Linked DNA regions of Homo sapiens: all the other regions are linked to region 1. The links are contacts of gene promoters, found by promoter capture Hi-C in human tissues and cell types (Jung and others, 2019). All regions are on one chromosome and are shown on one strand. Each heading gives the region's core, a stretch centred on a gene start or on the middle of the fragment in contact. The rest is flanking DNA. Distances are from core to core; before and after follow the strand shown. Region 1 holds the start of TMEM213 (transmembrane protein 213). Region 2 overlaps DGKI (diacylglycerol kinase iota). Region 3 overlaps DGKI (diacylglycerol kinase iota).

Region 1 (4,779 bases), core at 234-2,733:
AACATCGCCCTCCTCCCTTATAAGCAGAGCCAGAAGCGAGGGAGGGACTGGCCCTACTTGGGGCTATTCCACAAGAAAAGCTGCTGGGAAGACCCAACGATTCAGTGCAGTTAAACTTGTCTTCTGATTCTGAGCTCCCATCATAAGCAAGGCACTGTCGGGGTAAGTAGAAAGAAACTCAGCACTCTTATTTGGGGAGGGGTGAAGTTGGAAAATAAAATGAATGTGCTTACCATAATTGCTGACATTCACTGTGTGTGTTCTATGGGCTATTTCTAAGTTCTTTACATGAAATTACATCAATTCGTCTTGACAAGCACTATGATTGTCCCCATGAGATAAAGGAGGAAACTTGGCATAGAGAGGTAAAGTCATTTGCTCGAGGTCGCATAGCTAGTGAGTCATGGAAGCTGGACCTGGGTTCAGGCTCAGCGGCTCAAGAGTGCACGTCTTGAACCTCAACACCAACACCCCTGGCAGTGGCTACAGAAGAGAGTCTGAGGATGAGAGGGGCAGACACAGGACTTTGGGGGCAGGGTTGGTTTTGGGAGCAGGAGTGTTGCAGGGCATAGAGAGTGTGGTGGTGTTCTGAGGTGGCTGAGAACAAGATCAAAGCCAGGAGCAGAAGATGGTAACCAAGGTCCCTCTGCCGTGAGTTGCAGAACCCGGCCTGGCAGGGCAAGGCAGGGGATGTAGATCAGCCTTCCAGCCTCCACAGGAAAATGGGGAGATAACCCAGCATTTCCAGTGCCCGGGGAGGCAGGAGGGTGGGAGACAGTGAATGGCAGCCCTCCTGGCAGTCAGGTTTTGTGAAAGTCGCAGAGAAAGTACAAGGGGCAGGGAGGGATGGAGGACTTAGGAAAGGGAAGGTCAGACACAAATGTGCACAGGGAGGATTGCAAAGCACGACAGCCCAGTGGGGCTGAGAAGGAGCCTTCAGGACACAGCGGACCAAGAGATATCATTTTGGTCCCCTGATGGGTGAGACTCCAGCAAATAACTTTTTCCTTTCTTTGTGGCAAAGGCCAAGAGAGGTGGCTGCTCCTGCCTTAGCTGAGGAATTGAGTATCTGATCTCCGTCTCAGGCCAACCTAAGACCCCCCCTGCCCCAGCCCCACCTCCCACCCCCTGCCTAATCCTTCAGATGAGAAAGTTCTGTTTCCTCCTTCCTTTGCGCAGGACCAACCCTGGCCAAAGAATCTTCCCCCTCCTCCTTCTTTCCCTCCCACCTCTCTTCCCTCCTTCCCTCCCCCTTCCCAGCCTGGCCATGAATAAAGCTCATAACGCTACCTGCCGAGCAAGCCGAGTGGAGGGAGGCAAAGGCCAGGCTGAGGATCAGGGTGGCCCGGGTGGCAGCGGGGAGGCGCTGCATGCTGGAGGCTGTGCTGAGTGCCCGGTGCAGGTGAGCCGGTCCTGCGGAGTTGTGCCGAGTGCCTGCTGCAGGTGAGTCGACTCCCACCTGCAGGAGCTGGAAAGCAACTCTGCCAGAGGTGAACTTATGCTGGGTGTTTGGGGGAAACACCATGGGGTGGAGCAAAGGAAACTTGGCCTGTCACACCTTCTCTCACCTCTCTAGAAGGGAAGCCAAACCGTTGGCTGAGGAAGGAAGGGAGGGGCAAGCTGTGCCCTTCTCCCCTGAGCGCAAATATTGTCCTTATTGAGAAACAAGGGGAGGACAAGAGAGATCTGTGTCATGCTGGTTCCTGGGACATGAGTTTGCTGCCTCTCCCATCTGCAGGTGTAGCATGGATGCTCAATTCCATTTGGGCCAATATTCACTGAGCACCCACTATGCTGAAGTTGGGAGATACCTGCTGTCGAAGTGCGTTAATTACAAACACGCATCATTCAACCCCAGAACCGTGTTTGAGGAATGGCTTGGGAGGATAAAGCACTGTGGGTTTCAACAGTGGAGGCCACATCTGCTGATGGGATGCTTCAAGAAGAAAATGGCATTTGAGGTTGGGCATGGGGGCTCACCCTGTAGTCCCAGCACTCTGGGAGGCTGAGGCAGGTGGATCACTTGAAGTCAGGAGTTCAAGACCAGCCTGGCCAAAATGGTGAAACCCCATCTCTAATAAAAATACAAAAATTAGCCAGGTGTGGTGGTGCATGCCTGTAGTCCCAGCCACTTGGGAAGCTGAGGCAGGAAAATCGCTTGAACCCGGAAGACAGAGGTTGCAGTAAGCTGAGATGCTCCTGACCCTGCATTCCAGCTTGGCCGACAGAGGGAGACTCCATCTCCAAAAAAAAAAAAAAAAAAAAAAAGAAAATGGCATTTGGCCTGGGCCTTGAAGGATGGCTAGAATTTTGACAGGGGGAGAGGGGAAGATGGCATTATAGGTAGAGGGACAGATGAGCAAAGGTCCAGAGGTAAGGAAGTGTCAGAGGGTGGCTGTACCAGCAGCACCCAGAAGCGCAGGTGAGCCAAGGCATGTGAGGTGGGGAGGCAAGAGGAGAGCTGTGGGCTAAGCTTCTGCGTGCCTGGTAGAGGAATTTGAAACAAAGTCAGGAAGCAAAGGGGAAGGTTCTGTAGAGATTTTGAGCTGAGGAGTAACTTGACTAGAGCTCTGCATTCCGTCTAAAACATTTATTGAAGACCCACATGTATATAAAAGGTCTCATCCTAGGCACTGGAGACTGAGATGACTGAGACACGCCTCTTCCCCTTGAGAGCACAGTGCAGCAGGGAACCAAACCCGGAAGAAAGAAATTTGATGCAACCTGGCAAGACTCAAATAGGGGTACCTTCCACTGTGATGGGAATAAAAAGGAGGATGGGATGAACTCTGCCTGAGAGGTATAGGGGAAGGATTCACAGAGAAAGTGACATTTGGGCTGGGTGCTGAAGTTTGTATGTGCAGATTAGAGTTGATGGGCTTTTCAAGTCAAAGGAATAGCACCTATAAAGGCGAGGGAATCGTCTGTGTGCACACAGCCTGCCATGTGTGGAAGTGTTCCTGCGCATGAATGGGCCTGGTAAGGGTGAGGGGTGGACTCCAGCTCTGTGGAAAGACATAGAAGGCGTGAGTAAGCCCCAAGGAAAGATTTCCTAGTGGAGTGTAACAGCCCAGGGGAGGCACTTTTTTCTAATTGGCTCTAAGATATAAAATAGTGGTGGCCTATGTTCCTGGATTTGGGGATAGGGCCAACGTGCCCTAGGAAGGGTGATTTTCAGTCAGTGCACAGAAGTCCAGTTTAGGCATTACCACTAGTTGAACATTAAACAGTTGCATGCCAGGCCAGGCTCTCGGTGTGGGGACCTGGGGGTGAGAAAGACCACACAGCCCTTGTGCTCAAGGAACTCAAGGTCCCCACAGAGAGGACGCTGCTTAGTAGAACAAATGCTGTCCTCGATGTTTTCCTCACAAGTAAACCCTGCAGTGGGCTTCACAGGGCAGGACTGATTTATCCAATGGGTACTAGGGATAACAGCGGTACGTGGAATCCCCAAGATTTCCAAGGATCTCAAAAATGTTTGAGACCTGAGAAAATATTCTCAGATCCAAAATTTGAAGAACAGACCAGGCATATTGGCACACGCCTGTCATCCCAACACTTTGGGAGGCCGAGGTGGGAAGATCACTTGAGCCAGGGAGTTCAAGACCAGCCTGCACAACATAGTAAGACCCTGCCTCCGCAAAACAAACAAAAAAAAACACAAAAAAATTACTTGGGTATGGTAGTGTGCACCTGTAGTCTCAGCTACTCAGGAGGCTGAGGTGGGAGGATCACTTGAGCCCAGGAGGTTGAGGCTGCAGTGAGCTGAGATGGCACCACTGCACTCCAGCCTGGGTGACACAGTGAGACCCTGTCCCCAAACAAACAAACAAAAATTTGAACAATCAAAAACTGGGCAAAATAAATGATTGTTTCAAAAGCAAAGTTATACAGTTCACTTGAAATGTTTAAACGGAAACGATTTAATGTGGGACGCTGGGTGCATTTTAATGTGTTTGACGTGAGCAGAGCCTGTCCCTCCTATGGAATCGGAACCTGAGGTATGCAAACATGTAAGATGGCCTGCCTGGGGTTATTGTAGTGGTGGATTGAACAGCATCTGCAGCCTAAGCTGAGACCATCCTATCAAGTCGTATCAGGGAAAGCTTTTCTGGCAAGCAGTGGATGTGGAGGAGGGGGATAATGTGTTGGCCCTCCCTCCCTATTTTATCATTGTTATGTGATGTCGGACTGTTTTAGATGAGCTGTTTGTAGGACAAACATTCTCCTATCTACAGATGGAAGAACTTTGTTATTCGAAAATAGTATAGGCTGGGCCAGGCACGGTGGCTCAGGCCTGTAATCCCAGCACTTTGGGAAACTGAGGCAGGTGGCTCATTTGAGGTCAGGAGTTCGAGACCAGCCTGGCTAACATGGTGAAATCCCATCTCTACTAAAAAAATTCAGAAATATTAGCCAGGCGTGGTGGTGCATGCCTGTAATCCCGGCTACTTGGGAGGCTGAGGCAGGAGAATCACTTGAACTGGGGAGGTGGAGGTTATAGTGAACCGTGATTGTGCCACTGCACTCCAGCCTGGGCAACAGAGTGAGACTCTGTCTCAAAAAAAAAAAAAAAAAATAGGGTGGGCTGGACTGGCCAATGATAACTATTAACCCCAAAGAAAGGGCTGTGTGTGTGTGGCCACTTTTTACTTTACGAGTGTCACCAGTATTTGCTGTTTGTAGCAGGTCTACAACTAACAACTCCATGTGGCCCATTTCCTCACTCATACATTTTGCATCAGGTTTACTTTGGAGCGCATATCAGGAAGTTGCCTT
Region 2 (4,420 bases), core at 119-2,618, 1.0 Mb after region 1:
TTCTCCTTCTCCTTCTCTTCTCTTCTCTTCTCTTCCTCTTCCTCCTACTCTACTCTTCTCTTCTCTTCTCTTCTCTTCTCTTCTCTTCTCTTCTCTTCTCTTCTCTTCTCTTCCCTTCTCTTCTCTTTTGGAACTCTTATTAGATGGAAGTTGTATGTCCTGAATTTATCCTCTAATTTTCTTACCTTTATCTCTTCATTACCTTTGACCTACATTCTGGGAGATTGCTTTAACTTTATCTTGTAACTCTTACCAAAGAGTTTTTTTTCCCCTGTGACACTTTAAAAGCCCAGTAGCTGTTTCTTATTTTTGTTCTGTTCTTTTATTTTTCAGTTCTTTCTTCCTAATTGAGTACTTTGGCCCTGTCTTTCATACTGGTGGCTTTCCTGCAATGGCAGGAGATCTGCAGCCATCAGGTCACATACATGAACAAGGCTCTGAAGAGCTGACAGGATAACTTCCGTGGGTGGCCCAGGCTCATCTGGTAGTGGCCCCCCCATCAGGTCACAGACATGAATAAGGCTCTGAAGAGCTGACAGGACACCTTCTGTGGGTGGCCCCGGCTCGTCTGGTAGTGGCCCCCCACTGCAGAGTGGCCTAGGATCACAGATCTGTTCACTTGGAGGATCCTCAGATGTCAGCATCTGGAAGCTTTTCCCTTGGGCTGGCCAGAATCTCCATAATAGAACCACCCAGACTTGTTCCTGGGGCTGTGCACCTGCTGCAGGTGTTGTGGGAGCCAAGTTTGGAGTGGGAAACAGAAAGATCTCATTGTGGGTGTTGACTTTCACTCAATTCTCTCTTTTCAGACTCACGTTTACCCATGCACCACCCTCACCACCCTGCAAGCCCTCCCTATTTGAGTCCCTAGTTCCTGAGGATCCCTCTTTCAGTTTCTCTAGAAAAAGAAATTCCTCCTGTCCTGCCCTGGGTGTGCTGAGTGGGAAGGAGGGAATAAGGAAGATTCTCTTTGCCCTGGAGGAAGTCCATGACACTTCCAATTCCTCCTCCAATTCCTCAGCTTTTCTGAGGGGCTCCGTGCAAATTGGCTTGCTTTTTCTTGGTTTTGCTCTTTGAGATTTGTAACTTTCTTTGTGCTAATAGGTTAGTAATAACTTGTCAATTCACTTTCCATCTTCCAGAAGACTGTTAACATTTATTTCTACCTCTCCATTTCTCTGTGTCCTTGTGGAACTTTACTTTTTAAAAAAACTTAATTACTTTCATTATGTTGGAGGTTGGGAAGGGAGTAGAGATGAACATCACGTTGACACAACCATATTTGATGGAAGTCCGATTAGATCACCATTGGAAATATTTGTTTCTTAGAGTTTGCTTCATTTTCCTGTTAGGCTGGAGGATCCCATGATATTTGTCTCAGAATAACGGGAGGGTTCACTTTTCATTCTGTTTGAGCTTTCCTGGTGTATACCTTTCTTCCTTTCCTCTTAGGATCGTAAGTCCTGAACAATCTTGTTCTAGCTCTTTTCTCCTCTTATCTTCATCTGTAAATGAAAGGGGCTGAGAGCTGGTTTCAGGCAGGAACTAGATCTGACATTTAGGAAATCTCCTGTTCAGGTAGCTTCTCTTGGCCTTTTCCTTTCAGTGATATTTTCTGAAAACCTGACTTGCCATACTGATTTAAATGCCTGATACCAGTGTAAGGTATAGATGTGACTTCTCCTAGGAACATAGATAAAGCTTTGGGGGTGAAATTGACAATAGAGTGTGTCTCCTTTCTCTCTTTAGCCAGTGGGAAGGTTGGGTGACTTGGGGCTGCAGGATTCCGGGAGGCCTCCGTATCGTATGCTGCCTGTCCTTAGAGTCCATCCAGACCTGAGGGCTACTTAGCTGAATTGTTTAGTAAACGACGTGGGATTCAGCTGCATCATCTCTATGAAGACTCTCATGTTGACTTATCATTACAAAGGGCTGATGGTGGCAGTGGTTCTAAACCTTGACAAGTGAACGGTTTCTGCAGGAAGGCTCTTTGGAAGACTGTGACATCACAGACAAGACAAGGAATATCATTAGTGAGGTCATTTTAAAATTCTCAGATCTTGGACTTGCTCTGGGCAGTGACTTTGCCAGCAAGTTGGAAGAGGGCACAAGAAGTGTGCTCATCAAATTTGTGGCAGACACAAAACTGGAAAGGATGGCCAATGTAATCGATGACAAAAACAAAAATATGTCTCAAAATGATATAGATATGCTGGAATGCTGGGTTAAAAATAACACAATGACATTTCAAAGGGATAAATGTAAAATCTTATTTTGGAATAAAAAAATCAACGATACATAATGGTGGGAGAAAAAAATCTACTGGCAGTAGTTCTGGTAGAGAAAGACACTGAAGTTTTATTTGACTAAAAGCTCAGTATAAGCCACTAAATCTGACTGAGGCAACTAAAAAGCTGCATTAATGGAACGTTAATGTATTGAACTCAGGAAGTAACACCCCTCTTCAATGGTTGGACTGCACCTGGCGCCTCATGTTTGCCCAGAGAAGGGCAATTAGCAGGTGCCTGAGGGTCTGGAAGCATGTCTCAGGAGAAACCATGGAAGGAACTGAGTATATTCAGATGGAAAAGAAAACTGTCTTCTCCTTATTAGCTGTGAAACTTTAGGCAAGTTACCCTGGAAGCCCCTGTAGCCTCTTGGGTAAAATGTGGAAGGAGACCATTTCTCTGTGGTATAGGTAGGGGGCAGAAAGAAGGAAGTACTGGAGGAAGAGATTGGAGAGGTAGGAGGTGGGGATGGGATTGAGAACATATTCATAGCTCAGGGTAAGGCATTCACAGTTTATCCTGAGCTGCAGGAAAATAATATGGGCACTGTATTATCTTTCAAACCAGGACATTCAGAGTGAAAGCCAGGCTTATTCAATAAAACAGGACAAAAGGTACCAACTAGGGCTGTTGCAGGTACCCTAGACAAACCAGGAGGAAAGGCCATACTGCCGAAGAGCACTGTCAGTAGAGGACATCTGCCTTTTGGGGTGGTGAGTGGTCTGCCTTTGGAGGCATCTAAGCAGGGCTTGAATGAACTTCTCTTGTGGACCAGCACAAGAGAAGTCGGGTGGAAATGAACGAAATGAACTTTCAGATCCTTATTGAGTACTGCTACAAGGGATGCTATGTTAGAGAATATATGAAACAAATTAAACAGGAGCCATCCTGGCTCTCTGCAAATTCTTTTAGATGTGTATATTTGGCAAAAAGAGGGCAGAAAAAGGAACTCTGACCCTTTCTCAATGTAAAAGTTCCTTCTGAAGGATGAAATTAACTTAAAGGTTCAGAATCTGTTCACCTGGAACAATAATTCTGGTGTGCTCAGGAAGCTTTTTAAAAACACAGCTTCCCAGGGTGCCACCCTGGACAAAGAGTCAGAGGAGGGGAGGGGCACTTTAAGGAATATGATCTGTCCTAGGGCAACACCGTTCACATCTAGGGTGAGCATCCACCTACTGCATATTTAGTAAATATTCGTGGGCTCTGGGCCTAGATCTGTGATAGTGTCTGATCAAAGTCCATGTGGGAGCCATCACTTGACACTTTTAGGGGCTTAAAATAAATGTTGTGACAATATGCAAACACTGAACAAATGCCAAAGCAGGTAGACGACCTGTCCCTTATTTAGCGGTCTGTTTTTCAGGCCTAGACTACCCTATCCTTACTGGTTAGAAGTATTACAGCATGCTTTGCTAATTATTACAAGAGACTGAAAATTGCTCTATGTGGAGGTTGAGACCTTATTGGAGACTTGGAGCAGACAGGCATGGCCTGAAATTCTCTCTGGATGAGGAAGGTGTAAGGAAACACTGGCCTGAGCTACATGAGTCAAAACTTTTTAGCCCAGATGAATTACATTCTAGATACAGAGAGAAGCTATAGAATTACTGTTTAGAATCTTTGGAGAATCGTGGATAATAAATGGGACAGGAGCTGGAAAGCTGAGATAGGCAAACATTTTCTAAGTTTTCAAAAATGAGGATACTTTGGATTTCACACACTGTAGATGAGAGAATCTGACATAATTTCCATAAAACATTCTTGAACAGGTTATGAAACAAGCAGTTTGGGAGTCGTTGGACAGGAGATGAGTGATCCCTAAATGCAAACACTGGCCCACTGAGAATGTTAAGCCAAAGCAGCATGATTTCTTTTTAGGAAAATTAAAGTTGCAAAGCCTTAAATAGAGCAAATACAGCAGATGTGGCATATCTAGGATCCTGCGAGACATTTGAGGTGTGTGTCAGTTCACACCCGTAGCTTCCTGGACAAGGCTGGTGCATATAAACTGTATAATAGGACAGTCAGATAGTCAGATAGCATCATTCTTGTTTGAATGGCCTCTCCAGTATTTCACAGGCAGGCAGACATTTGACGGTAGTCATTCTGTTGCCTATAAAAATATAAAA
Region 3 (4,933 bases), core at 1,126-3,625, 1.1 Mb after region 1:
GCTGGGACTACAGGCGCCTGCCACCACGCCCAGCTAATTTTTTGTATTTTTAGCAGAGACGGGGTTTCACTGTGTTAGCCAGGATGGTCTTGATCTCCTGACCTCATGATCCACCTGCCTCGGCCTCCCAAAGTGCTGGGATTACAGGTGTCAGCCACCGCGCCCGGCCAAGATTAGTTTGTTCTTGTTTTTCTAGTTCCTTTATGTGTGAAGTTTAGATTGTTAATTTAGGACTTTTCTATCTTCTTGATGTAGACGTTTTGGTATGTTGTGTTTCTGTTTTCATTTGTTTCAAATAATTTTTTGATTTTTGCCTTAATTTTTTGTTGTTTACCCAAAAGTCATTCATGTGCAAGTTGTTTAGTTTACATATATTTTTATGGTTTTGAAGGTTCCTCTTAGTGTTGATTTCTATTTTTAATCCCTCTATGGTCCAAGAAGATGCTTTGTATAATTTCTACTTTTTAAAAATTGATTGAGACTTGTTTTATGATCAAGCATGTGGTACTTTTTACAGTATGCTCCATGTGCAGATGAGAAGAATGTATTTTCTTTGGCTGCTGGATGAAGTATCCTGTAGATGTCAATTAGATCCAGTTGGTTCAGTGTCCAATTTAAGTCCAGAATTTCTGTGCCAGTTTTCTGCCTCAGTGATCTGTCTAATACTGTCAATGTGTTAGAGGTCCCCTACTGTTATCGTGTGTCTGTCAAAGTCTTTTCTTAGGTCTAAAAGTAATTGTTGTATAAATCTGGGTCCTCCAATGTTGGGTACGTATATATTTAGGATATTTAAGTCTTCTTGTTGAATTGAATTCTTTATCATTATGTAGTGTCCTTCTTTGTCCTTTTTTACTCTTGTTGGTTTAAAGTCTATTTTATGTGACTCAAGATTAGCGACTCCTGCTCTTTTTTGTTTTCTATTTGTGACTTCACTATAATTTTAAAGCCCAGTTCCCACTAGAACTTCGTTTTGTTAGATGCTTTGACTGTAATAAAACAGCCTTCGATTTTTCCATTTTTATCTTTTTATTCATTATCTTTTGTAATAAATTCCATTATGCATAAAATTTTAGTGGTTACTTCTGGGATCAAGCCTGTTAACCCACTCACACAATTAAATTTTCCTTTCTGACTTTATTTTTTTTCCCCCGGTAGCTGAGTACCTTTCTTGATGTAACATTGAGTAAAACATTGGCTATTTATACATCTAGGCTTTCATTCTCATAAGTGTGTGTTTTAAGCATGGGTATTAATTTCATTATGTGGGTCCAAACCTGTCTCTGACTTGGAAATGACTTACGGGTGCACATGGGTCTGCATATTAAGGTCTCTTGTGGCTGTGGGAGTGAGTGGGAGTGACGGGAGCTACTGTGGGCATTCTTGTGTACATCTGGCCATAGCAGTGGGTCCCAGGCTAGATCACTGGCACTTCTTTAATTAAGGCTCTGTTTCTGCCCAGAGCAAATTTGAGGTTCTCTGCTTCTTTTCCTATTGCAGAAGGGGCCCTACCTAGGAAGGATTTTGAAGTTCTGTTTCTTCCTTTATTTTTTTTTTATCCTTTTGGATGTAACAGCGCACCAACCACTGCCAGAGCTGACAGAATTGGAATGGAAGTAGGTGGGTGGGGGTTGGGGGTGGAAGGAGGGATGGCAGTCATCAGTTTGGGAACAACCTCTGAGCCAAAGAAATGCCTTTGGCATATGAGAACAGTGTGAGTTTATCTCTTTTCCTGTTTGGAAGAAGGTACACTATAAATCCGACTCTACCCAGGAACTGTTTATGGGAGATCGTTATTAAAGAATAGATATTTGATTTTTCCATTGGTTTGGAGAAACTAGGAGTCAGGCACTAAGGACGTGCTGTGTACTCATAACTTTTCTCCAGCTATCCATAAGGCTAATATACATTTTTGACAGGAATTTTTTTAAGTAAGAATTTTTTTTTACATTGTATTTATAGATGTAAAAGCACTGAGAGCTTCATTACTAGAAAGCAGCCCCTATGGTTTTCAGCATTGCTAGAATCAAGAGATGATATTCTTGTTGACTGTTGACCATGCTTTTCCAGATCACCCACTGTTGCACATTCATGAAATTGGAGTGAGCATACAAATTTGTTGAGAGAATTATCTTAACTAGATTCAACCTCTGTGCCCATGAGGTACTGTCATTCTCAGTGATTCAAATAGATATTTGGGTACAGGTGGTCATGTTTGGCGAGCTGGTTTCTGTGCAGATTCAGCACCTGTGGTTTGTTTCATCTTATCGTTCAGACACAGATGCTCTTAGAGCACCACACCATGCATTCCAATGAAATCTTTCCACTGAAACCATAACCTCTGTGATCCTAAAAGGAAGGAGTCAGTGTACAGAGGGACATGACATATTCAAAATCAGAAGTTGGGATAAGCCAGAAGGAACCTTGTGGGATTAATTTTCTTCTTTAAGTGTGGGTAATGTTTTTCGCATGCCCTCTTTTCAAACCTCAGCACTTCACTTGTCCATCTGCATTTTCTCCAAGTATTGTAAATGTCAGGTTTGTGTGAAGAGGCATCTGTAAAACTGCTGGCATGAATAATGACTCTGATGTTTATGTACGGAAGAGCGCACCTGACTTTAGCACTCTTATTATCTTTTACTAATTAAAATCAAGAAGATGTTTCAGCTAGACATTGCCTGTGCATAGCACCTGCTGGATTGCTTTTCTCCTTTTGGTGTTTCTGGTTTGGTGGAAAGGCAAGAAAGGTGAGCTGAATGACTTGGAGCAAGGAACAGTGGTGATGTCCCATCACTCTCGGACAAGCACTCCTTAGCCTATTTAAATTTATTTTTCTAGTTCTCAAAATAATAAAAAAAAAATTAAGACTTAGCCACCCTTTTTATCAGTGAGGAAATTCAGGCTCAGAGAGGTGAGCTCATTTACCTAGTTACTCAGCGTGTGACAGGATTAGGATTTGGACCCAGAGTCACTTCTGAAGCTTGTTCTACTTCCAATCTTATAATTACCTTAAAAATAGGGTGTGGCTGTATAGACCAGCTTTTGCATGAGAAAAGCCTCATTGTTCATGAATTTAGTTTATATTGGATGGTTATTTTAAATTATAGTCATGTGCTGAGCATTATGTCACCAGCAAATCATAGCCGTTTTCCAGAGATATTTCCCTGGTTAAATATTCACATGACATTTGAACATACTGAACAGCCAAGCATGTTGCTTAGTTGTTATGGTTGTTTTTGTGCGGGGATATCGGGTAGGGGAGGGGATTAAAAGTATTGGGCTGGTCTGGCTAATTTCTAGTCTCCATTTCTTGCAGACGACCTCTGATTCTCTGGTTTTGAAGTAGGGAAGTGTGACTGTGGTGAATCCCAAGAAACAGCTTGATAGCTTTACACCATACACCTGCCATTGCTGACATACTTTGGAGGGGACTGAAGTGGAGATGCAAAGCAGTCAGGCTGTAGGCCCCAGGGAGCTTATGAATCTGACCTCAGGGGTCCTCCCTGTAGAGATTCCTCACACCAAACATCTGAACTCATGTCAGGCAGTACTGTTTTAACCTCACTTTTTGCCCAGAATGATGGGAATAAAATCAAAATTGACAGACAGAGGAAGCTGGTCTTTCCTCCAGAATTGATAAACCAAGATACTTTAAACTTATTCCCAAGAATGTGGATTTCTGCATGTATGTATCTCTTCAAGGTTGCATAAATGGAATTTGTGCTTCAATTTGTCAGAATCCTGAATTTCCAAATCCTGATGTAAGGATTTAAGTAGGAGAGATACCTGGATTTGAATTGTTGTGAAATACAGTGGTAGGTTGACTAGCTTTATTCCAACAGAGTGAGGTTGATAGTCTTTGTTGCCATGAGATGCTTCACCTTTTCCCCTACCAACCTTCAAAGACATGGTGGAGCGGAATCACTGGGCAACACCAGTGGGAATAGTTCAACCAACAGTAGTTCTCACTTAGCAGAGACAGACCTCAGGTTCAACCTTTTCTTGACTGCCATTTCGATTCTGCAAGTGGCAAAAATAAACTGGAAAGTGGATGATCACTCTCATATGCTCTATTGACAAATAAGAAAAACAGGGACCAAAAACAACTTTCTCTGGGCAGTCTGGGGAATAAAAGCTGCTGGGAGGATCTAGTGTACACATGCGTGTAGCACTTTTTACATTCGCTAAACCCTTTTATAGTTACTCTGTCATTGGCCATTCTGACTATGTTGTGTGCAGGGCAAATGAGTTTTGTTCTTCCCATTGGAGAAAGGCTATCTAAGGAAGACCCATGGGAAATTAGCAAGTAAGCCAGGGCTGGAGTTCCCAGAGAGGCCCTGCATGAGGTCCCATAGGAAGCCGCTAGGATCTCGAGGTCTAGTCGTTATTTTTCCTCTTTGGCAGATTACACCGTAACTCTGAAAGAGCCAGGGAAGCCTAGGTTGTTTGTTCTTTAGAGTTTTTAACATGGAAGGAGGTTTAGAATTTATTTTGCCCGTCTTTTCATTTTAGAGATGAGGAAAATGAGACCCAGGGAGATGTGATTTCACAGGTCAAATAGTCCTATGACACTGGGTAGACAATAGGATACCTGATGTGAATGTTGAAAAATGTGCCGTAGGAGAAAACAGCCCTTTAGGCACTTGACTTGGCAAGCTGAGGTTACTTGGTGCAAAGGAAGAGATGCCCTTCTTTCAGGTGGATGTAGATCCATGCTGAGACACGTGGCTCAGAGTGCTGAGCATGGGCTGGATTTCAGCTCCTGATCCCTCTATTTTCAGTCCACAAACTGCATACTCTGTGAAGTGGCTCTGCATGGTTTTGCTGGTTCACTTAAAACATATTTGGATAAAAAACATGACTGAATGAGGGAGTCAGCTTTTCATTAGGTAGAGGAGGTGTCCATATGTCTAGTAATTGCCCTCATTTGGCACAA

The links. The method cuts DNA at HindIII sites, captures the fragments that hold promoters and counts their contacts. A contact is called where the count stands out against the background at its distance.
Region 2: a fragment that was not itself captured here is called in contact with the fragment with the promoter of TMEM213 in region 1 in 1 of the 25 tissues and cell types used here (IMR-90 fibroblasts).
Region 3: a contact is called between a fragment that was not itself captured here and the fragment with the promoter of TMEM213 in region 1, in 1 of the 25 tissues and cell types used here (aorta).

What each region holds. Positions count from the first base shown.
Region 1 is chr7:138,794,698-138,799,476 of GRCh38, reverse strand. TMEM213 (transmembrane protein 213) reads right to left here and starts at 1,483. Exons shown (of 3, transcript NM_001085429.2): 1 at 1,291-1,483. The coding sequence starts at 1,372. ATP6V0A4 (ATPase H+ transporting V0 subunit a4) reads left to right here and starts at 1,281. Exons shown (of 22, transcript NM_020632.3): 1 at 1,281-1,443. RefSeq lists a silencer at 1,219-1,513. The HindIII fragment of the contact is 6,104 bases long and covers 1-3,290 here.
Region 2 is chr7:137,763,165-137,767,584 of GRCh38, reverse strand. The region is part of intron 1 of DGKI (diacylglycerol kinase iota); the gene reads left to right. Among named protein-coding and RNA genes, the nearest start is that of DGKI, 82 kb to the left of the region's middle. The HindIII fragment of the contact is 5,465 bases long and covers 1-4,100 here.
Region 3 is chr7:137,738,938-137,743,870 of GRCh38, reverse strand. All of the region lies in intron 1 of DGKI (diacylglycerol kinase iota), which reads left to right. Among named protein-coding and RNA genes, the nearest start is that of DGKI, 110 kb to the left of the region's middle. The HindIII fragment of the contact is 4,076 bases long and covers 338-4,413 here.